7 separate regions of the Homo sapiens genome follow, and all the other regions are linked to region 2. Evidence: promoter capture Hi-C in 16 types of primary human blood cells and fetal thymus (Javierre and others, 2016). All regions are on one chromosome and are shown on one strand. Each heading gives the region's core, a stretch centred on a gene start or on the middle of the fragment in contact. The rest is flanking DNA. Distances are from core to core; before and after follow the strand shown.

Region 1 (3,552 bases), core at 492-2,991, 220 kb after region 2:
CTGATAATTTTTGCCAGATTTAATAATTCCATTGGGATTTGTAAAATAATTATTTTCCTCTTTTATCAGTTGGTCTACATTGGCATTCTTCTGCATAGAAGATTTTATCTCTTCAGCTATTTGATTAATCATCTGAACCAGGACACATTGAGAAAGAGGAGGCTGTATTAATAATTATGGTGAAACAGCGACTCTCCAGGACAGGCAGGGACCTGTCACCTTTGGTCACCTTAGCTAAGTGAAACTGAGGGAGGGAGGTTTGTTTCCTTCATTTTTTGTAGAATACTCTCTTTACTTCAAAGGGAGTAGAATCAGTTTATTCCTGCCAGTTATGTAAGGGGTTGTGTGTATAAACCAGAGTTAACTGGACCCACATTTCAGGTCTCCTCCAGGGATGTTTTGGCACCACCTATACATCAGTGCCCAAGCAGCCTGCCTGGCTTGCCTTAATCCCACTGTGCCAGGAGGCCCGAGTGTTACTTACTTTATTCTTCACCGTCTTAGTAGTGAGCACTTTACATTTTCCTTAGCCAGGTAAACCTCTCAACAGAAATAGGACCTGGGCATCATAGAGTCACTCATTTGCTGCTGTGTTCCACATGTTTCTCCAGTGTAATCACTGCAGATGCTCCAGGAACTGGCAAATACGACAGCACTGGCAAAGATGTAGGTCCCATATGTTAAACATCGCTGATTTCCCAGTACTAAAAATCATGTTCACAAATAACTCAGAATAATTCCTTTCTCTGTGTTTGAGATAATTGTTAGCCCTTTTCCTTTCTGACTTTTTTGTGTATATTCCCCTAGTGCATCTTCAGTATGTTATATTGCCTCCTTTTTTTCATATCTTTATATTTTTATATCTTTATATATAATATATCTTTATAAAGATATCTTCATATCTTTATAATTGTTCCTATCTTTATAATTGAAACATACTTCATTGTTATTCTGGACCTAATTTCTTATTCATTATCACCTTACAGAAATATTCATCTTACAGAAATATTTCTGAGCTTAGGACCAACTTCTTTTGGTGCTGCCTGTCTCTAGTGGTAGGTCTTCAGAGTAGATTTAGGGAATACTTAACATCTACATTTCTGGTATTAGGAGAATCTCCCTGCCACACACACCTACTTAAAGGTTGTAGTGTAGTAGCAGTTCTCTCCACAACTCTAGTGGTTGTGAGATTCAGTGCAAGCGACTTAAAAAAATACTGGGAGCAGAGGCCAAGCATGCCTGTCTTCTTTTCTCTCTGATGAACTCCTATTCATCCTTTAAGACCCGACTCAAGAGTCACCCTTTCTGAAAGCCTTGCCCAACACCAGTAACAGTAAGTCACTATGTCTTCTATCTTAACACTGTGTACATATCTCTTTTATTTCCGTCATCACATTTACTACAGTGCCTCTCCCCTCTACCCTCTGTTCCTGACAGCAGTGCTCATGTTTGACTTTCACAAGTGATTGTTTCATGAAATAATAGAAGTGATTGTTTCACGAAATAATAGATGGGTAATTTCTACTATTTTAATGACCATGGTATAAGCACCAGTCTCTCTTTGGCTGTTAAATATTATGAAGCTTTAGAGCCGAAGGCATTCAAGTCTTTTTTCCTGCTGTTGTTGAAGGTCTGGGATATGAAAAGCCTTATCAAAGACAATAATAGCTGCTATTTACTGAATATTTAATATATGTTAGATTCTGTGCTTGGTCATTTACATGTGTTATTTCATTTAATCCTCAAAGTCACCTACAATGGTACATAGTTATTAGCATCCCCGTCTAACATAAGAGGAAACTAGGATTCAGACTGAATAATTTGTTCAAGGCCACATACTTAGTAAGTGAATGGAGGAGGAGTTGAATTCAAATTTGCTTATTCCAGAGCCCAAGCTTTTAACCACTGAAATACAGCCTCACACAGGATGGATGGATGCATGACAGATAGATAGATAGATAGATAGATAGATAGATAGATAGATAGATAGATAGATAGATAGATGATTGACAGTTTTTAGATAAGATAGATGGATAGATAGGTAGATAGATGAATCAGTAGATAAATACCTATGATTAGGTGTTTTATAAATCACTTACCATGAAGAACAAATTATTAATCTTTACCAACATTGTCTACAGACAGTTTCATATTTATAAAGTCAAGAAGGAAAATTATATAAAATTGACTGGAAAACAAACCCAATAGGTTTTTGGTTATCATTATGAAAACTTAGCCATGTTTAGCTAAGCAGCAATTATCCATACTAACATGAAAGATGTTCTAAGTTACAGATAATTCAGGAATGTTATTTCTTTGTTTTAACCTACAGTCTTTATCTCTCAACCCCTCTCCCCCAAAATCCAGACAATCACTTTTTACTGGAACCAGTAAGAAGGACACCATAAAATGATTTGAGCTTCCCTTCTACTTTGATTAGCCAACTTGCCTATCATAGTAAGTAATCAGATGACTCAAAGGACAGGCAGCAATGATAGAACCACAGAGGTAGGAAATTCCAGATAATGGATAAGCAGTTGTGGATACATTTGCAATTGGCCTTAATTTGGTGAATTCTTCCAATTCTATTTAATGAAAGAATAAAAAGCATTCTAAGATCCTAGGGAGTTGTGTAGATTACTTTATTAACTTTTTCGTTATTGATAAAAAGCCTGAAGGCTCTGAAAATGATTAAAGAGCACAAAAAACAGATGGTTGTAGGTTCACTTTTTTTCCCCTAGATTTCACCACCTGCTTTAATATACTGAGAAATCAGGTCAAATGAGTTCACTGCCTACAGTACCAAAAGCTCCCTGACATTAGCCAGAAGACACAAGTCTCAATCACATTGGCGTATAGTGAGAAAAGGCCTCATCTGCAGGCTTTGGCTAGTCTACTGTAGCTGTGTTTGCCTTAAGAGACCAAATAATTTCTAATCTTACTTCACCGAATTCCCCTCCAGGGAGCTGGGTAAATCAGACACCTTCTTGAAATTTCCACATGATCCGGAGCCCGTAAAGAACATGAGTAGATTGGCTTTTTGGCATAAGTCAACATTGGAGTTTGACTTTCTAAACGCATGCTTACATTTTTTGAGTCTGATGATGAACTAGCACCAATATATTATGTGCCATGTTGAATTTAACAAAAGGCATTTCAGAGATAGGGTAACACATCCAGCTAACTTAGGGCCAGTCCTTCTTGAAGAGGAAGTACCTTGCTAAGAAGTTGCTGACTGATGAGTCAAATACTTGTACTCCAGGGTATATTGGTTTGGCCATTGTATCCATCCTCACTTTCCTCTGATAGTTTTTTTTGTTTTGTTTTGTTTTGTTTTGTTTTTTTTAAGTTTAAGCCTACTCCAGGCTTTTGAAGGCAGATAAGACCGTTGTATGGTGAAAATATTAGGTCAAGGTCCAGCTGGAATTCCCTCTGCTACTCACTACCTCGGGGGCATTGACTAAGCGTCACTTTCCTCAGACATAGATTATATGTGATACATAATCCTTAAATTCTCCTCCTAAATTCTGAAGTCCTTTGATTCTGTTGGAG
Region 2 (3,719 bases), core at 147-2,646:
TTGAAGACCTCAGGTTCCTTTAAGGCAGGAAGCAATATGAGTTTCATCTCCTGGGCCTGATTAAACAAGATTATTTTCGTGTGCTATTTATCAGTAGACGATCACAATGAAATGTGCATACGACAGTTTACTGCCTCAATCACATATTGCAAATCAAAAAAACTAGAATGCCGTTTTGCTGGGGCCTCCTTAGTTTCTCTTCTATTTCATTCTTTCCTTTCCTTTTATTCCACATTATTTTACATTTTCCCATAAGTCATCCATAATTCAATCTCAGTCTAGAAGAGTAAATTCGATTACTCGGCGGCTAAACATCGTGTGCCTTCTCAGAAACAAGAGAACTTGTAAAACAAAAACAAAAACAACTTAAAAAAACAAAAACAACCAACAACCACCAAAAAAACAAAGGCATGAAAAGTTGGAACCTATCGGGAGGCTCTTGGAAACTTGGGCAGCTTCCTTTCTCTGTTCAGGATTTAGATTTCTATCTCACGTTACTTTGCGAACAGCTTCGCCTGTGAATCTCCCCCTACACCTCTGGGCACCGGTGCCAATTCCTTCCCTTCCCTTCCCCAGTAGCCCCACACAGTATAGAGGAGCTTATTTTCTAAGACTGCACCGGTGTCAGAGGTGACGTGAGAGTTTCTAACCGAATGGCGTTTTAGAAATAGGAACGGGAAACACAGAAACGGCTGAGGAGCGACCCCGTGGAGCAGACAGGCACAGCCCGGGAGCGGCGGACGCCAGCGCCGGCGCCGCAGGGAGCGCGTGCGGGGCTCCGCGGGGCCGCCTCCCGCGACTTCAGCAGGGGCCGCGGCCGCGCTCCCGGGCCGGTGGGCTGAGGCAGGCAGAGGCCGCCATATTCCTGTCTCACCACGCCCGGCCGGACGGCAGCCGCAGGTCGGCTGCGGCCCTGGCACGCAACGGCGGCCGCCGGCTCGGGCTGCGCGTCGGCGGCCGGGTCTGGCCCCGACTTCGGCCGGGGGCGGCCGTGACTGCTGCGCCCGCGGACTCTGCCGAGGGTGCGGGAGCAGTAGGCGTCCGCAGAGCCCGCGGGGGCCGGCCCAGCCCGGGAGCCGCGCGGGCGAGGCGAGAGCCGCACTGGGAGGCGCGCCGCGGCGGCCGCGAGCCCAGGAAAGCCTTCCAGGAGGGGCCGGGCGGCACCGCCTCCCGGCTCCCTCCTCCCGCGCCCATCCCCTCCGCCTCTTCCTCCTCCTCCTTTCGCCGCCGCCTCCTCCCTCCCGGATCTGTGCTCCAGTTCAGAGAAAGAAGAAAATGTGTGTGTGTGGCGAGGGGGAGGGCTCGCACTGAGCAGCCGCTCCGCGCCTGGCAATCGGGGCAGGGGGTGGGCGTCTGGCGGGGGCGGGGGCGGAGGCGGAGGCGGAGGAGCGCGCGGTTGCCGGGCGGGACGGGAACCGGGTCTGCGCGCGAGCCGGGCGGTGGGCGCGGACAGGGCCGAGGGCGCCCGGGAGCCGTGTCAGGCGGCGGCGAGGAGCGGGCGCGCCGGGCGCGGGGAGCCGTCGGCGGCCGCTCGCTGCGGGGACACCCCGGTGAATGAGCTCTCGCCGCCAGGCGCACGGCGTAGGGGAGCCTCGCAGGCGGCGGCGGCGGCGGCGGCTCGGGGGGCGAGGCGGGCCGCCTGTTCCCGGGGAAGGAGGCGCGGGCGTCTGAGCGAGGCCGGGCGCGGCGGCCTTCTCTCACGCGCCCCCCGAGCCAGCGCCCGCCTCCCGCGCCCGCCTCTCTTCTCCCGTCGGCCCAGACTATCCGCTCCCACCGCGCCCCCGGCCCACCTGGTGGCCCCGGCCCTGGCCGCCGCCCCCGCGGCGGTTCCCGGAGCTCGTCCCGGACGCGCGCCCGGGCGGCGGGGGCTCGGCGGCCACCGCTGCCTCGGGGGAGCGAGGGCGGGAGGGTGTGTGTGCGCGCTGTGAGCAGGGGGTGCCGGCGGGGCTGCAGCGGAGGCACTTTGGAAGAATGACTCTGGAGTCCATCATGGCGTGCTGCCTGAGCGAGGAGGCCAAGGAAGCCCGGCGGATCAACGACGAGATCGAGCGGCAGCTCCGCAGGGACAAGCGGGACGCCCGCCGGGAGCTCAAGCTGCTGCTGCTCGGTGAGTACCGTCCGGGGCCCCGCCGGGCCTCTGCGCCCCCAGCCCACCATCCTTGGCCCTGCGGGGCAGCTGCCTTCGGCGCCCCCGCCCCCCGGCGCCCGCGGTTCGCCCCTACCCTCCCGGGCGCGCCCCCGGCCACTGCCTTCACCCGCGCGGGCGCGCGGGCGCGTTACACACAGACACACACACACACACACACACACACACACACAGCGACACACACACGCAGCACAGGGGTCGGGGCTGCCCTGCCCGGTGCCTTGGCTTGTTCCTTTTCGTGTCCCTGAGGGCTGTACCTTATCTGCTGTGCATCTGCTAAATGGCAGATCACTCCGACCAGAGGCGCGGGGGTGGAAAGGTGGGCAGAGGGGTTGAACTTCCAGTGTCGTGGCCGCGGCACCCCATGGGGTGGTGGCGTGGGGAGCCGTGTGTGTGGCCCAGCGGGTGGCGAGCGGAGCCGGGGCACGTTGGGGGATGGCCTGCGGTGGAGTGGCCGGTGTGCATCCATTATCAGTGCCCTATGGGGTCAGGAGGGAATGGGGGAACGGTGGGCAGACTCGCAGCTGGATTCCCGGAGCACTCATGGTGAGGAAGCCAAGTGGTTGGCCCTCCAAGGAAAGGGTCTGTGTACTGGGGGCGAGGCGGGAGGGCAAGCCCAAATGTGTCACACAAGTGCTGTTCTCTAGCCACCAGACCATCGAAAGGAGGGAGCCTAGAAGAGTTGGCCAGTGGATGGTGACAGGCGTTATTCTCGTCTGCACCATTCCTTCTAGATAAAGATGAGGGTAGGGGAGCGTTGTGCTGTGTGGTTGTTGACAGCGACCGGTATCTTTTGTTTAATGAGGCAACCTAGATGTAGGCCTCAGTTCACAATAGTTACTACCGAAAACCAGTGCAGTCTCTCAGTTACTCTCTTGGCAACAAATAGAAACCTTTTGTTTAAAACAGATAGCATTTTAATGTCTTTGGAATCTGGGCGAGAAGGAAAAACGGGAAGCATACAGGAAAAATTTCCCTCTAGTCTTGAAAAAAAAATTCTGCTTCAACACTAAGTTAGCAAGAAAATGCCATTTCTCAAATAGAAATTTATTGATGATTATCTCTGGGAGGATGTTCAGAATCAAGCGATCAGGGTTCATATACAAGCCACAGTGACAGAACCCTGAGCTACTGTGGCAGGAAGAGCAAACAGCTTTGCAGTAACGGGCCTGAAAAATGTCTGCACTTGTGTTCTGGGTATTTGCATGTATAATAAATGTGTTTCTCAAACATTTCTGTAAGAAAAGAATATTGTACTGTTAGTTGGTGTTTGTGAGAAGCATGCATTTTCTTTCTTATCTTGAGCATTCCATTTGCTGGCTCAAGGAACCAATTGCCTTTGGGAATGAACTGCTTATGTACTGGATCATTTACAAGCAGGAACAAAATATACTGATCACACACATAGTTACTAATAGTTAATTCCCATGACATGCTTTCTTTATGTCTTCATTTTGAAACTCAATTAGATAAATGTGCACATGTTTATAAAAAGCAGAAGGCAAAAGCACTGGATGAAAGAGTTGGGCTTAGGGGAATGAAGCCAGGGAGGAGGCAAACTGCAATTGGAAAG
Region 3 (3,673 bases), core at 348-2,847, 210 kb before region 2:
CCAGGCTGAAAATTGGTCACATTCTTTAAACAAAACTAAAACTGCAATGCCCATATGTATCAAAAGACAAAAATAACTGCTGTCTTGTATCAAAATATTAACGTGTGGCAATCATATAACACATTTTCATGAAAGTTGGAACATAAAGTTACCTTTAAGATCTTGGCCATGTGATCTGCTCCCTGCCATGTCAGATTACATCCTGTGAAGTTGACTGTCTTAAGAGTGATAGAGCTCTTTATACCTTGACAAATAACTAAAATGGAAAAAAAAACCACATACAATAAGATGAAGAGCATATACAACCTAGTCAGTCTTGATTTATTTGCTCTTCTTATATCTTTTCTATTTTATAGTTGTATTCTTAAAATCACTATTTACAATCTACCTAAGCAACTGATTGGTACATTCTAAAATAAGTCAGTAACAAAGAGTTACTCCAGTTTATTGCAATAGTTCAATTCTATTTAGATGCCAAAATTGAATAGACTGAATATTGCAACCTTACTCCAGACCACAGTAAAGTTCTATATACTTTTTGAGACATCTGAAAGAAAAACATAAAAAAAATAAAACTCTTCCTATTTTCATTTCCAAGAGCAGACCTCAATCTGTTATTAACCAACAATTCAGTGTCAACTATAAACCCAGAATTTTATTAGGTGTTATACTAGAGCACCTAATGTACTAGAACAATAGAAGACAGAGGCCTTTTAACTCTCTGCTCCCTCAAATTGAAATGCAGGTTTCCTTACCCCTCCAGACCACTATTTCACACAACGAACACAAGACTTCAGGATCCCAACGAACAGTCACCTTCTGTGACTATTTCCATGATCCCAACCCTTTCCCCCCAAGTCTGTCAGCCTTTTATATGCTCCTATACAGCACTTTGCTTATATTTCCTATTTTGGAACATACCACAGTGCATTAAAATTGATTGTATATATGTTTTAATTATTTAAAGTAATGATGATTTTTTTTTTTTTGAGACGGAGTCTTGCTCTATCGCCCAGGCTAGAGTGCAGTGGTGTGATCTTGGCTCACTGCAACCTCTGCCTCCCAGGTTCACACCATTCTCCTGCCTCAGCCTCCTGAGTGGCTGGGACTATAGGCACCCGCCACCATGCCTGGTGAGTTTTTTTGTATTTTTTTAGTAGAGATGGGGTTTCACCATGTTAGCCAGGACAGTCTCAATCTCCTGACCTCATGATCCGCCCACGTCGGCCTCCCAAATTGCTGGGATCACAGGCGTGAGCCACCACGCCCGGCCTCTTTACATTTTGCTATTTCCTTCCCATAAATATTTCTTGAAGAAAAACTCTAAAAGATGAACAAACACAAAAAACAGAGAATACCAGATGGTATATATTTGTGTGGTCTGTGGTTTAACACAAACTTAAGTAAAGTTAGTTCAGATTACATTCAGCATGCCAAGCTTTCATGGTAGACTTGAGACTGGACCAAGGTTTGAACAAGCATATGAGGCAGTAGTAAGAAAAAAGGTACAGACAGGAATTAACATGGCATGTAGGGAAACATGAAACCAGCCTGATAGGACAAGAGTTAAATGAGATTTAAACTCACTTTCTAAACCTCCATCTCCAATTGGACAATTTGCAAGAGACAGGTGCACCAAAGAAGCCGATTTATTCAATCCCTTTAATGAGGGGGAAAAGTTAAAAATGTTATTGAGGTTTTTTTTCCTCTAAAAGCAACTATCAAATGTCTACAAGCCAAATGAGACAAAGCTTACCTTTGCTAGAATAGTTAAATCCCTCTCTCTCAGAATTAGTCCATTTAGCTCCAGGTTCTTTAGCACACTTGATATACTTAAACAGCCTTTAAGAGCTTTACACAACTGGAAGGTCACATCTTTGTATCTTATCGCAGGAACACGACTTCTGCAAAATTTATTCATGTCAGAACCTAAAACAAAGATAAAAGAAAGTTAGTGACTTCAATCATACAATGTATCATTCAAAAACATCTGCTCTGTGCTAAGACATAGAAATGAGCCATGTCCTTTAAAGTCCTCTTAAGCACAGACACATGTAAACTCAAGCCACATGGGATATACCAAACTATGTACATAGAGGTTCTTATGGAAGCAAAGAAGTTGCACTGAAAGGATGGCTTCAAGATAATCCTGAAGCTGAATCTAGAAAGATGAGAATGACAACATGGGGTGAGAGTGGGTGATGCATTAACCAGAGGGAGCAGCGAGAGCAAAGGCATCTAAGCCTGACACCTGCCGGGCACTGGAAAACTGCAGGTGGATCCGACTAAAGCCCAGAGCCGTAGCCGGAAGAGTCAGAAATTTACAAAGAGGCAGGGAGAAGCAAGCCTAGGAGAGTTCACTTTTACCTCACAGGTGATGAGGATCAGGGCTACCACTGACACATTAAGGATACCCCTAGCAGGTTAGAAAAATGTGCCTCACTGTTGGAGTATCAAAGAGATAAAGGAAATGAGAAAAAGCTCCCCTTCCTCAAGACCAACTAACCCCAGGAGGCTTAACAGAACACAGCTGAGATTTCAGTGCCTCTGTGCAGAACACAAGCAACCAATACACACTGGTCCTGCGTGGGCATGCCACTTTAAGCATGTCTTTTCCTTTTTGAAAGATCACTTGAACCAAAGTAGGCAGATGAACTGAGAAAAACCAAGCTCAACGGCAGCAAAACTAGCTAGGAGCGTCTGCAATAGTCCAGGCAAAATGTAATTAAGGATGGACAAGCAATATGTAGGAGGTTAAAATCTACAACCTAGACCCACTAGATGCAAGAGATAAAGAAGGTTCAGTGAAGAATATCTGACGAGAATGGTCTGTAATACATTTTTCTTACATTCAGTGCAAAATATTAGGCAAGATCTAGTAGGCTAGCCTTGACTCTGAGGTCCCTCCCATCTTTAATTTATTTTGGTTCCTGGTTTTTTTATTTTTTGTAGGGGGAGGGTCATGGACAGGGTCTTGCTCTGTCACCCAGGCTGGAGTACAGTGGCAAAATCATGGCTCACTGCAGCCTCAACCTCCCGGGCTCAAGAGATCCACCAAGCCCAGCTAATATTTTTTACTTTTTGTAGAGACAGGAGTCTCACTATGTTGCCCAGGCCAGTCACAAACTCCTGGCCTCCCAAAGTGTTAGGATTACCAGTGTGAGCCACCGCACCTGGCCTGGTTCCTGATATTATTTTGGTTAACTAAAGTCCATTCAGAGGTACAGAACAGTTCCTGCACCTGAATGAGATGTAGAGAATAATCTGACTTATTTTCAGAAGCAGATGTGTTGAACTGTCCTTGCAGAAGAGATGGTGCTAACCCCAGAGCCTAGAAAAGGGCCGGGCACACGACAAGTGGTCAGGTTGTTTTTAAATACATCAATAATCATTTCCTCTCCCAGATCGCACACCCTCCCTCTTTCTCTCAGCTTATAAACATGTTCACGTCCATATCCACTTAAAAAACACCTTTCAGACCTACAATTATCTGGATCTTCTTTGTGGGTAATCTAGGTCCCTCCCATGCCTTCAAATACCTGTCCTCCCACAAAGCCTAAATCTTGGGCCCAGATCTGCCTAGCAGACACATTTGGATGCCCCACAGGCCCCTCTTAAAACATTAAAGACAAACTGAGATCCTCCTCCCACCCCCAATCTCATTCGAGTTAAC
Region 4 (3,578 bases), core at 614-3,113, 200 kb after region 2:
ACAAAATCATGAACAGTATTTCTGTGATCAGATAAGATGTATTCTCTATATAGCAGTGTCCATTATATCACGTGGGCATTTTTACAGGCACAGTAATATTAAGGTCAAGATGTTTAGTGATTCTAGCAACAAAACCAAATATTAATACACAGAGTATGAAACAGATAATTCTGTCACATTGAAAGCGTATGTCATCTGGTCCTCAGAATGCTGTCTAGTAGTTTTCCACTGTATTATATTTAACAGAGGCTTTTTATAAATACAGTCATACCAATTAATAATTTTTCCACTTCTGGTGGGTGGCCATCGTAGATACTAGAACACATTATCAATGATATGAATGATGGTTTTAAATTGCATGGGTGGAAATTGATCCTCCTGATTTTGGTGTGGGATACTACTGAATGCCCAGTGTAGACTGCCTTTTAAACTGCATATGGTCCTAATTTTTAAAATCATGCACTCCATCATTAAAAGTTATTTTGGCTTTTCTTAAAATTCTATGTGATGAAAATTTTTAATCCTTTGTGATATAAAACATTTTAATTCTTTTTTAAAAAATGATTAATTTGTGACACATTAATCCAGTGGTCTGGTAGTAAGTTCTGCTTAAGTCACTACTTACTTTTAATGTCTCATAAATAAAAGAAAACCACATAAGATATGTAGTTATAAATGGAAGGAATGTTACTAGCTGTGCTTACATCATGATTCTTTCTCAATCTTATTCACCAATTATGCAAAGGGTTTTAATTGAAATTTTGCTAGTAAGTGTCCATCTTCACTGATGTCAGCTGTTCTTTCAAACTAACTGAAAGATGTTGCATTATTCATGTTTAACAAATGGGTTAAAAACTCCACTGAAACTCTTTCTTTAAAGGACTTTTTCTCAAGTTTTACAAGTTCACACATTGATTGTGTGTGTGTGTGTGTGTGTGTGTGGTATAACACCTTAACAGTGGTTTTGACAGCAAAATCATACCACAATGGAAACATATCCAAATATCCATTTTCAAAATGCTTTTTTTGCAGCACAAGTTTTCTAGCAGTTGCTTTCACACTCATTGTTGAAATGCTCTTTGGCCTTGAAGGGATAGATGAAATATGTTCATACAAAAATATCTGCCAGATAGGCTGCCACTTCAGCCCCTTGTGATGACAACAACAAAAAAGGTCAGCATATTTGGAAGACTAACATTTTGTAAAAGAAAAACGTGTTTTTAAGTTATCTTTAAGTTATTCAGGTCTTTCAAAACATAAGAAACCGCTTGTGTTTTAACAAAGATACTTAGTAACGACTCCTTAGAACTCCTGGTCACCACACAGGGACATCAGACAAGTCCTGGCGCCATTGTTACTCCATGCATTAAATATGACAAAACTTACTATCTTTGTCTTCCTCAGGTTATATGCATAGGTTTTGATATTTTCTCTCTGTGCCCCATGGATGATGTGTGCCCCATACTTCAGATACCAAGGTCTCTACCAGTGTAGACCACTTGGGGGGGCATTAGAAAACCTTGGCCAGGCCAACCACAGTGGCTCACACCTGTAATCCCAGCACTTTGAGAGACCAAGATAGAAGGATGGCTTGAGCATGGGAATTCACGACCAGCCTGGGAATCTAGGGAGATCTTGTCTCAACAAAAAAATTCAGAAATTAGTCAGCCATGGTGGCGCATGCTTGTAGTCCCAGCTACTTGAAAGGCTAAGATGGGAACATCACCTGAACCCTGGAGATCAAGGCTGTAGTGAGCTATGATCGTGCCCTGTACTCACTTCAGCCTGGCAAAAGAGTAAGACCCTGTCTCAAAAAAAGAAAAAAAAAATTGGTCATGTCTCAGACCAATTAAATCACAATGTTCAATGGTGGGATCTAGACATCAGAGTCTTTTTTTTAAGCTCCCCAGGTGATGCTGATGTTCAGCCCAGTTTGAGAAGCACTGATCAGCACTTTCCAAACTTTAATGTGCACACAGATCACCTGGGGATATTGTTAACCTGGAGATCCCTATACAGTGGATCTGTGGAGAGGCCTAGAGGTCTGCATTTCTTATAAGCTCTAAGGCGATGCAGAAGCTGCTTGTGGGTGGACCACTTTGAGTCCAAGAGCTACATCAGCCCTCCCCTCTGTTCTCTGATTCATTCTCTTGGGCTCTCAAGGCTGCGGGTGGGCCACAAAGCTGCAGCTGTGTCGAGAGGAGCTTCAAGCCGCAGTCATTGCTGCTTCATGTCACAGGGAATTTTATTGTGAACACTAAATAACACTTTTCTCATCTGTAAAAGCAGGATAGTAGTCAGATGTGTCCTTGGCTTTTCCACTTTATTTATTGAAGAAAGCAGGGAACATAGTATGGTTTTGGGCTCCTCATTGCAAGATGAGCTTAACACTACTATGGAGAAGCCAGGAATTATTACTTGGCTGCCTCAAAAAATGTTGAATTATAAGGATGTGAAGAAGAACAATAAAAAAGATTATTGATAGCATTGGTGGGAATTTGTTTTTATTTTCAGATCTGTAAGCATTCGTAGCTTTCATGTAAGAATAAAAACCTTCAAATAAAGTAATACTTAGGACTCTAAGGTGTTTCTTATATGTTGGGTTAGTATTCAGCCCCTACTATTGATAACACCATACCTGTGTTAAAATGTCTGAAAAAGTATAATATTATAGCTGCTTCCCCAAGTTCCATGAATGGCCCCAGCAGCTCTTGTCCCACCCCAGGACATCCTGGCCTTTTTGTGATCCAGCACCTAAAAGGCTGATGTGAGGCATGACGAGGAAAGTCCAGGGCCTTGCTCTGTTCTGTTTGGCTGGTGCCCATGCCATACCACTGGTTAAATATTTTAATTTCACTTTAGCCATGTTTGAATGTGTAATCATAAGGGCAAGGTGTCTCAGCCATTATCTAATCCAATATTCCAGTTATAGAAGTCAACCCTTAACATATAAAGGTTAAGAGACTGGTCCTAGACCATAACAGAGGCTCCCCCAGGCCTTCCAACTACTTTTTCTGTCCTGTACTGGTCATTGTATCATCTTTTCCTCAGTCTTGTTAGATCACATTTCAGGACAAATATATAAGAAGGCAAGACAGCTCAGCCCCATTGTAGAAATATTTATTGATCTAACATGAAAATTGTGCTAGACTGCAAGAAATATTAGTCTCTGACCTAAAGTAATTTACTGCATTGTTGGAAATTCTTTATGTACAAAACATGATCAGTTAAATAGCAGTGACAGGCACGATACAGCTTGGTGCCCAACAATTGTGCTGTGAAGACTGTGAATGGCCCAAAAGAAAAAAGTAATTAGGAAAGGCTTAATTACAGGAGGATGGGTAGGATTCTGGAAAGTCTGAGGCCCTACTACATACACATCCATTCTTCACCAGATCTATAGGTTAGCACCTCCTGTGCAGTGTCTACTGGCAACACACTCAGATTGTTTCTGATTAAAATTTTGAATACATTTGTTTGAAATTGTCCATTTTTACAAAAAAAAATTTTAATTGCTATATAATTCATCTATCTTAAATCTGCTATTAATGAATAGAAAATAAAAGAGAAGAACATTT
Region 5 (3,479 bases), core at 697-3,196, 140 kb after region 2:
TAGGTAAAGGAAATAATTCAACAAAAATATACAGAAACTATTTAAACGTGCAGAGAAAAGATAAGAACTGCTGCTACGAAAGAGAGCAAGAGATGGAGAGGAGAACGTGTGATAGGGCTGGCTACTGAGAATAGGCAAGAAAAAGAATAATTTAGATGAGAATATGTATGAGGATATATAAATGGCAAAATGGATACAGTAAAAAAATCAAAATAAGGAAAACTAAAGGTTCTCATTTTTGCTTAAGTGCTGACTTCAGTGCATTTTATATTTGAATATTATGTTAATGAATTAGAAAGTTAAGCCCTGAAACAAGGATACATAAAGTAAGAAACAGATTATGGAAATTTAAAACACTCTCTTGCTATACCATATCTTTTGCATTTCTTCCTTCTCCTACTCCTCCAGGGAGACAGAGTCTCACTAGCTTGCCCATGTTGGTTTAGAACTCCTGGCCTCAAGTGATCCTCCTACTGGGATTGTAGGCATGAGCAACTAAACGTGCCCCACCTATACCATGACTTTTGAGTAAGATACTACCATCTGACGAGTCTCTGGGCAAATGATTGAAAACTAAGTATCCTGATCATGTCTCCTCAATGCATTTTTGATGGAATTTTTGTTACTAGAGCTATGCTGTTGTTTTTTTAGACAGAGTTTCACTCTTGTTGCCCAGCCTGGAGTGCAATGGTGTGATCTCGGCTCACCGCAACCTCCGCCTCCTGGGTTCAAGCGATTCTCCTGCCTCAGCCTCCCAAGTAGCTGGGATTACAGGCATGCGCCACCACGCCCGGCTAATTTTGTATTTTTAGTAGAGACGGGGTTTCTCCATGTTGGTCAGGCTGATCTCGAACTTCCAACCACAGGTGATCCTCCCACCTCGGCCTCCCAAAGTGCTAGGATTACAGGCATGAGCCACTGTGCCCAGCCTTGCAATGCAGTTTTATGACACGTTTCTAATTCTCATATTTCTATGCCCCCTCTATTTTCAGGATGAAATAAGAACATTTAGAAAATGAATGCTACTAAAGCTTTCTTAGGCATAGCTTAAGTAATGCCAGATGGCTTCGATAAATTATTATGAAGTCTTTCAGTCAAACTCTCAAGTTTTTTAGGGGTCTGGAAGAAGTACTGTGGAGGATTCTAGGAGTATGGTATGCCAACCCAAATAACCAATACAAAGATATGTGCGAATCGGCAATTACATTGGGAACAGAATTAAGATACATTATAACTAAGATAAAGTATTTCAAAATTTAAACATTTAAAATAATTTTTAATAAAGAATAAAGTAGAAAACTTACAAACCCATGTCTATTTGAAGGATTAGCTATTATGTGTTTTGTAAGCGAGTAGATAAAAGGAGTAACTAACTTGTAGTTTTACTTGTTTTTAGTATGCATATTATAGAATGTTTGCATGTAAAATTAATACAATTTGACTTTGACAAACATTTCGGATAACTGGAAAGATGGAAGCAAAAGCTTCATTTGGGATGAAATGTCAGTTTATTAAAATTTCTAGGCCATGATAATTTAAGAGTTTGGGAAAAAACCAAAAGAACAGGTATAAAGATAGTTGTGCATTTGGTTAGAAATAAGCGGTGACGTATTTTGACAAAGAGAAGCATACTAATTGAATACAGTGGGCAGGACTCATTAGAGACTGTGATAATAAAGGGAAGAGAAAAAACAAGAAACATTTCTGCCTGGTATCAAGAAGGACTTAACACAGCAAATTGGAAATGAACTTGCAGCATCACTAGGGATCTGGAAGGATCAACATGTGTCCAATAAGCATTGGACAGTTGATCCTTCTTTGAGAATATTCTGAAAACCCTGCAATTTACAGACAAAAGCAAGATGCTAGAAACAGATCAGAAATGAATAAACATCATAATGAGACATTAAACAGGATTAAGGATTTTTTTTTTTTTTTTTTTTTTTTTTTTTTTTTTTTTTGAGACAGGGTCTGGCTTTGTCGCCCAGGCTGGAATGCAGTGGCAGGATCTTGGCTCACTGCACCCTACGCCTCCCAGGCTCACGCAGTCCTCCCACCTCAACCTCCTGATGAGTAGCTGGGACTACAGGCACGCACCACCACACCCGGCTAATTTTTTTTTTAAAAGATGGGATTTTGCCATGTTGCTTAGGCTGGTCTAATTCCTGAGCTCAAGCAATCTTCCTGCCTTGGCCTCCCAAAGTGCTGGGATTACAGGTGTGAGCCAACATGCCCAGCCTCAGGATTAAGGAATTTTTTTGAAATGTTTAATTCAGTAGGTATGGCATGACTAAGTAAAGTGAAGGAATCAAAAGTTGTTTTGAGGTGTATTTAAAAGATGATATATGGTGCTTCAAAGGAAACTGGGCATTCAAGTTGTAGAATGACAAAGAGGAGTTCAAGCTTATGGGAAGAATGAAAAATTTTTTGATTTTCTAATTTGATTCTAAATGTCATGCTGAAAATGGAATCTCTTCCGTGTCCTCTCCCCTACTCTGAGGGAGCAAATGGCTTTAGTGCTTTGATGCGTCAGACACTCAAGGGACTTTGCTAGACTAATTGTTAGTGAATAATCCAGAGGCTCCCATTCTGCTGCTCTGATTTACAGGAATGATTATTTTCCTCATCTTTCTCATAAACCTCACTTTTTTTCCAAAATCTGACACTCTTCTCAGCCAGCGTTCCACGTGAAGAATAAACAGACTCAGTCTGGATTTTTCAAGATTCAGAGTACTTTTTTTAAGGCAAGCAGAACTCCAACCTTAGGATAACTCAAAATAAGGTTTAAATGGTAAAAGTTCATCTTGTCCTGAGGCATTAGGGGATTGCGACAATGAGTAGACATTTTAAATATTTTCACTCTTATAGCAAGCCACTTTTCTCCTTGCTGCATTTACCCCACTCTGCTCAGGAAAGTTGTTTAGTGAGCTATTACTGCTATACTTTCCTATTTAGATGTTTTCTCTGGGAACACTAATTTTGAAGGTCAAGAATTCCAGAAGTCATTCAAGAATTAGTATTCTGAAATCTGTGTAGTAGCAGGAGGAATTATTGCCAGTGATCTAGAATGAGGATTCTCAAATGTTTTAATCTTAGCACCTCTTTATATACTTAAAAAGTTATCGTGGATTCCAATAATGAGCTTTTATTTATATTTATTTTATTTTAATGTCTATTGATATTTATGTTATTGGAAATTAAAATTGGGACCCCATCAAAACAAGTGTGTGCAAACACCCATTCCATTAGCCATCAGAAAGATGTCATCATTGCATGTCTTGAAACTGCATTGTGCAGTCATGAGAGAATGTGAGCAGTAAAGGCACAAAATGTCTTAGTGTTAGTGTGAAAGTAATTAGGCATCCCGTACCCCCTTCAAGGGTCTCAGCAGTCTCCAGGAGCATCCCGATTACACTTTGAGAACTACTGATCTAGAATAATTGCTAAAAGAATTATTCATGTGCCAGTACTTGGCTCAT
Region 6 (3,537 bases), core at 326-2,825, 160 kb before region 2:
TTTGCCTTCTGCCATGATTGAGAGGCCTCCCCAGCCGCATAGAGCTGTGAGTCCATTAAACCTCTTTTTGTTTATAAATTACCCAGTCTCAGGTATGCTTTTATCGGTAGTGTGAAAACAGACTAATACACCTCCATTGGGAATTCTGTAGGGAAGAGTGATGAATATCAAGCTATGACATGGGTATTCCTTGTTCCTGGGCTATAGTACCATCATAATATCATGAATACTTTGCCTCCAGCCATAGCTCCTCCTCTATCCATGTAGCATCAACCTTTCTCTCTATGCAGAGTCTTTCCTACGAGTGGGAAAACATGCTCGTATTTCCTCCAACTGTTTAGCAAATAAAAAAAAATTAAAAACACAATAAAAAGCCCCTTTTCTTGATCTCACATCCTTATTCTCTTCTTCATATAATAGTGAAGCTTTTTAAAGTTAGTTGAGAAATGGCAAATTTAACACAGCCAACAAGTGTTCCATTAATATGTGGTAGTTGATGAGGTGAGCCCATGCTCAGACACAGACCAGATATGTGGCCACAAGCAAAGCATAGGTTATTGCTTTCATGCAGCCCACCCTTAGTAAATATTGCTAAGGATGAATAAAAAAATTAAGCATTGAATCACCTTTCAAAGCTCTTGCTAAAATCTGGACATGAAAACATTAAGAAAGTAAGGAAAATTCAAAAGTTCAGGATCTTCTGGGTTGGGAACAGATACTTCCAACTCTGGAAGCCAGATTCTCACCTTCCCTGGTTCCCTTACAACTAGAACACAAACATTGACCTACAGCTCAGCAATCAAGTGCTCGGAGTCAGACTTTGACTCAGTAACTAGCAACACAAAGAGTCAGGAAATCAGCGACTGTGCATAGTCAATTATCGGGATTGATCCTGGGAGAGCCCCCTCCACCTTCCAGAGGCAGTAGTGATGTTTTCTTTAGCCAGGTCAAAGGTCCAGAAGGGGTGATGAGACTACCACTGGCTAAGTTTCTTATCCAGTAGTGGGGGCAGTGTGGACTATGTGGGATCACTTCTGTGGACTTTGGATGTTTCTTGCTACGTAGCCTCTAGATCTGCTTCTTCAGCTTTCCTGGATATGAAGAAAGCTTCCAAATATCATTTAATACATTAGTTTCTGACTCAATTGCCCAAAATGTGTTTCTATTGTTTGCCACTAAGAACTCTAATTGGTACCCCGCTGAGGCTCCTTAGCCAAGTGGCAACCAAATGTGGTATAAATATGACACTGTCAGGCCCTGTTGCAAAAAGGGCAGTCAAGCTAATTGTTGAATAGCAACACCATATTTGATTAATTCCATTTCATCCCTGATTTTTCCTTCTCTGTTCACTTCTTCCCTATTGTGGTTGCTGTATCTGTTAGAATAAGAGTGGTATCACTCTTTTTTTTTTTTTGGATCTTAGGGTGAAATTTCTTCTTGTCCCTTAAGCTATACCTAAGCCTTGGGCACACAGTAATAGATGAATAAAAAGAAAAGAAAAAAAGGCAAAAGTAATAGGAAAATAAAGGAGAAATGATAAGAAATATGGATGTAAACTGCTCAGATTTCAATATTCTATGTCAGGAGTCTACAAGCATTTATTGTAAAGGATTAGTAAAGGGTTGCTATAAATATTTTTGGCTTTGTGGGCCATAGGTTTTTGTCACAATGATTCAACTCTACCATTGTAACATACAAGCAGCCATAGATAACACACAAACAGATAGGTACTGTTGTAAATAAAACTTTATTCACAAAAGCAAGTGGTAAGCTAGATTTGGCCCCCTGATCATTGTTTGTTGACCCTTGCTCAATGACATGGTAGGTGCTAGGTTTTCTTTTCTGTTTATATTTAGGGTGAATACTCTTATATTCATTCATTCATTCATTCATTCATTCATTCATTCATTCTGGAATCACTTCTTGAACACCTATTTTGTCCCACTGTCCAAGATTTCTATAACTGAAGGAGCTCACACTCTGGGATGGATCAGGTGGCAGTAGTGCCATGTCGGTGCCCTGTCCATGTTCCCTCAAGCTTAACTCTTCAGTGCATGCAGACCCAACTTCCTACTGCCAGCATCTTCATTTCTTTGCCTGGGAAATTTCTCTGGCCATGATTGTATACAGTTGTATTCCTCAAAATATTCCAGTGTACTTCTCTTGAAGGTGGATGGGCTCTGTGACTATTTTGAGCAACGGCATATACAACAGTGAGTCCATGTATTATTTGGTCCCAGGCTGGAAAGCGTTAGCAGCCCATATTTCCCATTTTGGGGAACATTTGCTCTTAGAGTCTAGCCACCATATTGTAAAAAGCCCAAGCAGTAGCATCGAAAGACCCATGTGGAAAGGACTGAGTATCAACTTGCTAGCTTTGAGAATAAACCATTTGGGAAGTGGATCCTCAAGCCCTAGTCAAACCATACCAGTTAAAGCTGTGTATGAATAACAAGAGTAAATTATCCCCACTGAGCCCAACCCAACCTGCAGATTCATGAGCAACATGTATGCATAAAATGTAGTTGCTTTAAGCCTGTAAATTTTGAAAGGGTTTTAATGCAGTAAAACCCAGGACACTCACCCTAGCCTACAAGTAGTTATTATTATCAGCCTTTAACAGATGAAGGATAGGAAGTTTAGAGAAAATAAGCACACCTTGTTCCAAGTTCTTCACAACTAGTAAATTACAGATTAATTTACTAGTTAATTATTTCAAACTCAGGTCTTTCCGACCCCAAAGCTCAGACTCTTTACCTTGTTGCCTGTCTAAGCCAGAAACTAAACTGAAAAGAAATTAAATAAGATCAAATGAAAGAAAAGGAGGTAATATGAGTCAAGTCAAGGTGATGATAGGTGCTTGCCAAGCCAAAGCTGTCTGGTGCCACTTTTTTGGGAAATGTTCCAGAATGTTGCTATCCCCATACTTCAGTCCTGCCTGTGTTAACTCTATGCCCCCATTTTTAAACTGCTGTCCTAACACTTATCACATACTTTATTGTCCATCTCCATACTTGGGTAAAGCTCTTCTAGATATCTTACATCTATCACTATTCCTGGCCTCATTGCAGATATTCAATAAATATTTTGGGGATGCATTAATGAATTCTGGAATAGATTGTGGGGCACAAAGAACCTTATCAATTAGACTAGAGACACAACTATTAGACTTGTGCTGTCTATAACCTGGAGAACAATGCAAAGATGTTTAAAGAGTTCACAAGCTCTCCCACTCCATTCGTCCCCACCCATACCTGCCTCCCCAGGGTAATCCATGTTAATAATCTGGTTGCATCTCTCCACACCTTTCTTCACAGTCATATAAATTTATACAAACACACTGTATGATTTGGAGGGTTGTTTATTATTCGAATGTTGCGTTACTTTCTATTTCTCTGAAACTTGTAAGCTGGATAAAAAGCACAGGTTCTAGAGTCAAATTGATTGGGCTTAAATTCTGGGTCCTTGTTTACTAGCTCTGGTATCTTTGGCAAATTATTTAACCATCTTTGTACTCAGGTTTCTTATCTATAAAGT
Region 7 (3,539 bases), core at 632-3,131, 160 kb after region 2:
AACATCTGTTTGCCACCATTATTACAGTTCTGTTTCTATTCTTCAGCTAGCTTCAGCTAAGTGGGTTGTTTGAATGTTGTAACATCTTCAAGATTAGACCCCAGGGGATGAATACAAAATCTTATTGTATTATACTTTCCAATACATTCTCTTTCCAGCGAAACAAATTCGCTTGCTAATCCTTCCCTCTAGTGTCTTTGTGGGAACATTCTCATGACCTAGAATATCCTCTTATTTACCTCCAAGCCAGATCTTCCTTCTGTCAGACTCCACCTTGGAGTTTCTGTTTTTCCTTTCAAATTGGTCCTTACCGAGGGAGAGTGCACTATCAGTTTGTAAAACCTTCAGGTGTATTGTGTTGGTTTCTATGTGTACTTAAGCCCCTTTCATGTGTCTGTGTATTGTATCCCTAAAGAGGCTGGTATGCTATTAAAAATACAGAAACAGGAGTCAGAAACCCTGAGAGTCTTGGTGTGTGAACTTGGACTTTGTCTTTGTTTCTCTGGGCTTCAGCGTTTACATCTGTGAAATGGAAGATAATCTCTTCCATGCCAGTCACACACATTCATGGTCAAGAACTATGTGCTGAGATGTGTTAAAATCTGCTTTGTATTCTACACCCTGTTATGAAATATATGTTTGTATTATGGGTTTCTTGGAGGCAGGAACAGTTTTTTATACAGTAGAGCTGTATATTACAAATTTATATGTATATTAATTATAATTTAGCACATGGTAAATTCAGTTTACACATTGTGTTCCCTCTGAAGCTAAACCTTGGCTTCCATTGCCCCAGGGAAGGGAAAGCCACAGTTGAGATGCTAACAGAAACAAAAGAAATGATTATTTTTTTTGCTTCTAAGCTTCCAAGAACTCAGATCCTAGTAGTTTAATGGTAATTTGACAGTGATGTTAGGAATTTTCACATAATGGTAATTTGACCATATGTAATTTTTAAGTTCTGCTTTACAACCAAACAACAATACATTTGCACTGCATATTGCATAGTTGCAATTACTTAGCTCATTGCTGAGTGGATGTTCAAGAAATATTGAATAGCATATAATAAAATATGGTAGGAAGGTATAAGAATTCAACAAACAAATGATAGCATTTGCCATTCAGGAAATTTTGGATGCACATGCTACCTATTATTTGATTTGGAAGAACTGCTAAAACATGTATCTTATTAGCCCTGGAATAAGAGTTTGAATTCCATATACATGAGATAATAATTTAGGGCATAGCAATGTTTTGTCCAAAGTTTCAGTCTCTACCCTTATGCCCTTTCATGTGGTCATTTATGAAACCATACCTCTCCCTCACCCCATGAAAATCCAAGTGCTACACAATCAAAAGAATATTAAGTTGTCATATAGGAAGATTTTTCTGTTATGCCACTTGTCCACTTAGGTAGTAAAATTCTGCAATTCTATTATAGATCAGAAAAAAGTGATGTTTTTATAGTACACTTTGAGCAACTGACACATCCTTATTGCTCCATCTGGGAGCTGCTGTTGGAACAAAGCATGGTGAGGATATGGGGAGGAAGCCACCAAGAGGCAGCATTTAAATACCTGGCCTTTGAAGGGATTAAAAGGGATATTAAAAAGGATATTAAAAGGGATCAGAAAAGCCCACCACTGTTGAGGATCTCTCCGAGATTTCATAACAAATCATCCCACCTTTCTACCCCTAAAAAACAAAACACAAACCATGTCTGTGATTTAGAGAAGCAAGGAGTAATTTAAACCAGTCTGGGTGTTTTGAAAATCACCTTTCTCAGCTCTGTATTTAATCTGTCTCACCTGAGTAGACTCCTGGGATGGCTACTCTTATCCCTGGATCCTAAGTAATGAGTAGTAATTGTGATTTGGAAAGAGTTCAGTGCTGAGTAAAGGACTATTTATCCTCTGGAGAATCCAGAGGACTATACCTTAAGAAAATAGTCCTATAGACTACATCTTAAGAAAATTGTCAACTAGATTTTAGTTTCCTTAGCTATCATGTGTAATTGTAATATGGATTATGTTAGAGGCAGTCATAACTAACCTTTAAAAATGTTAAATTAACTTTATTTGAAATATAATTTGCATTGGATAAAATGTTGCCTTTTCCAGTGTACACTGTGAGGTGTTATGACAAATGTATGAACCATGCACCCACCACTACCATTAGCATGTAGAACATTTCTATAACCCTAAAAAGTTCACATGTTCATTACAGTTAGTCTCCCATCCCTAGACAACTAATTGCTTTCTGTGATGACAGATTCATTTTGCCTGATGTCAAATTCCATAGGAATGGAATCTCATAGTATCTATCATTTGCGTTTGGCTTCTTATATTCAACATAGTGTTTTTGAGGTTTTTTTTTTAATGTGCTTGTACCAGTTTATTTTCCTTTTTTATTGGTTAGTAGTATTTTATTTGGAATGTACCACAGTTTATCCATTCACCTCTTGATGGACATTTGAGTTGTTTGTCATTTTTGGCAAAACAAGTATTTATCTCAAGAAGAATGTGACTGGAGTGAGACCTAGCCATTGGTGGGTAAAAAACTAGCACCAAAGGCGGGGCGCGGTGGCTCAAGCCTGTAATCCCAGCACTTTGGGAGGCAAGGCGGGCGGATCACGAGACCAGGAGATCGAGACCATCCTGGCTAACACGGTAAAACCCCATCTCTACTAAAAATACAAAAAATTAGCCAGGGCGCCTTGGCAGGCGCCTGTAGTCCCAGCTACAGGCTGAGGCAGGAGAATGACGTGAATCCGTGAGGCAGAGCTTGCAGTGAGCTGAGATCGCGCCACTGCACTCCAGCCTGGGTGACAGAGCAAAACTCCGTCTAAAAAAAAAAAAAAAAAAAAAAAAACTAGCACCAAAAAAAGGCATCAAGCTTTCTTGAGGTTTCAAACTGCTTCCTGTAACCTCATTTATATGTAACAAATATCAATATCGCATAACTAAATTATCCCCAAAAGAAATTACTCAAAGATTCTCTATTAGCTGATAAAGCTCCCATAGCCTTCTCAATGTAGAAGATCACTTTTTGTCTCAGTGTTGAAAACTGTTAGATCAGCATACTCGCTTATTACCTTATTTAAAAGAACCAGGTGATAAATGGAAGCAATTATTTTTCCTATTATTCTAGCTATATTTCTGATTGCAGGTGATTCAAAGACCTCAAAGAGAAAGTCCCTATTATGAAGGCATTATCTAGAAGAGAATCTATGTCTATACACATGTAGATATAAACATTATGAATTTTTCACATACTCATCCATTTACTTATCAAATTAAAAATTCTAAATATTGTCAGAGTTCAGTGTAGCTGCATGGCTAGAAAGGCTAGTAGCAAAGGGGACCTTGTGTCAGGCTTTTGAGGACTGGGGAGTGGGGAAGGCATTCCCAGAAGGAGATGGGTTTGACTATAGGCAGGGCAATGAGGACTGCTTAGAGGAGAGTAAATCAGGGTAGCAGATCATAAAATTATGTAGGTAGGAAGTGGCCAAATTAAGGAGTATTTTATAGGCTGCATTT

Evidence for each region. Contacts are between HindIII fragments. The CHiCAGO score rates a contact against its expected background, and 5 or more counts as called.
Region 1: a contact is called between a fragment that was not itself captured here and the fragment with the promoter of GNAQ in region 2, in 11 of 17 cell types (M1 macrophages, non-activated CD4 T cells, erythroblasts and 8 more). The highest score is 7.7, in M1 macrophages.
Region 3: a contact is called between a fragment that was not itself captured here and the fragment with the promoter of GNAQ in region 2, in 8 of 17 cell types (total CD4 T cells, non-activated CD4 T cells, naive CD8 T cells and 5 more). The highest score is 9.1, in total CD4 T cells.
Region 4: a fragment that was not itself captured here is called in contact with the fragment with the promoter of GNAQ in region 2 in 11 of 17 cell types (fetal thymus, non-activated CD4 T cells, monocytes and 8 more); the score reaches 8.4 in fetal thymus.
Region 5: a fragment that was not itself captured here is called in contact with the fragment with the promoter of GNAQ in region 2 in 14 of 17 cell types (megakaryocytes, erythroblasts, naive CD4 T cells and 11 more); the score reaches 14.9 in megakaryocytes.
Region 6: a fragment that was not itself captured here is called in contact with the fragment with the promoter of GNAQ in region 2 in 3 of 17 cell types (monocytes, non-activated CD4 T cells and naive CD4 T cells); the score reaches 6.4 in monocytes.
Region 7: a fragment that was not itself captured here is called in contact with the fragment with the promoter of GNAQ in region 2 in 6 of 17 cell types (megakaryocytes, neutrophils, monocytes and 3 more); the score reaches 11.6 in megakaryocytes.

The regions. Positions count from the first base shown.
Region 1 is chr9:77,808,660-77,812,211 of GRCh38, reverse strand. All of the region lies in intron 3 of GNAQ (G protein subunit alpha q), which reads left to right. Among named protein-coding and RNA genes, the nearest start is that of GNA14, 160 kb to the right of the region's middle. The HindIII fragment of the contact is 312 bases long and covers 1,586-1,897 here.
Region 2 is chr9:78,029,488-78,033,206 of GRCh38, reverse strand. GNAQ (G protein subunit alpha q) reads left to right here and starts at 1,396. Exons shown (of 7, transcript NM_002072.5): 1 at 1,396-2,107. The coding sequence starts at 1,972. RefSeq lists an enhancer at 1,313-2,207. The HindIII fragment of the contact is 11,535 bases long and covers 1-3,719 here.
Region 3 is chr9:78,238,279-78,241,951 of GRCh38, reverse strand. CEP78 (centrosomal protein 78) reads right to left here. Exons shown (of 17, transcript NM_001330691.3): 2 at 1,757-1,929; 3 at 1,588-1,660; 4 at 153-256. Among named protein-coding and RNA genes, the nearest start is that of CEP78, 4.0 kb to the right of the region's middle. The HindIII fragment of the contact is 313 bases long and covers 1,441-1,753 here.
Region 4 is chr9:77,828,202-77,831,779 of GRCh38, reverse strand. The region is part of intron 2 of GNAQ (G protein subunit alpha q); the gene reads left to right. Among named protein-coding and RNA genes, the nearest start is that of GNA14, 180 kb to the right of the region's middle. The HindIII fragment of the contact is 7,148 bases long and covers 1-3,578 here.
Region 5 is chr9:77,887,893-77,891,371 of GRCh38, reverse strand. All of the region lies in intron 2 of GNAQ (G protein subunit alpha q), which reads left to right. Among named protein-coding and RNA genes, the nearest start is that of GNAQ, 140 kb to the left of the region's middle. The HindIII fragment of the contact is 919 bases long and covers 1,487-2,405 here.
Region 6 is chr9:78,190,392-78,193,928 of GRCh38, reverse strand. No RefSeq gene overlaps it. Among named protein-coding and RNA genes, the nearest start is that of CEP78, 44 kb to the left of the region's middle. The HindIII fragment of the contact is 931 bases long and covers 1,110-2,040 here.
Region 7 is chr9:77,869,657-77,873,195 of GRCh38, reverse strand. All of the region lies in intron 2 of GNAQ (G protein subunit alpha q), which reads left to right. Among named protein-coding and RNA genes, the nearest start is that of GNAQ, 160 kb to the left of the region's middle. The HindIII fragment of the contact is 2,032 bases long and covers 866-2,897 here.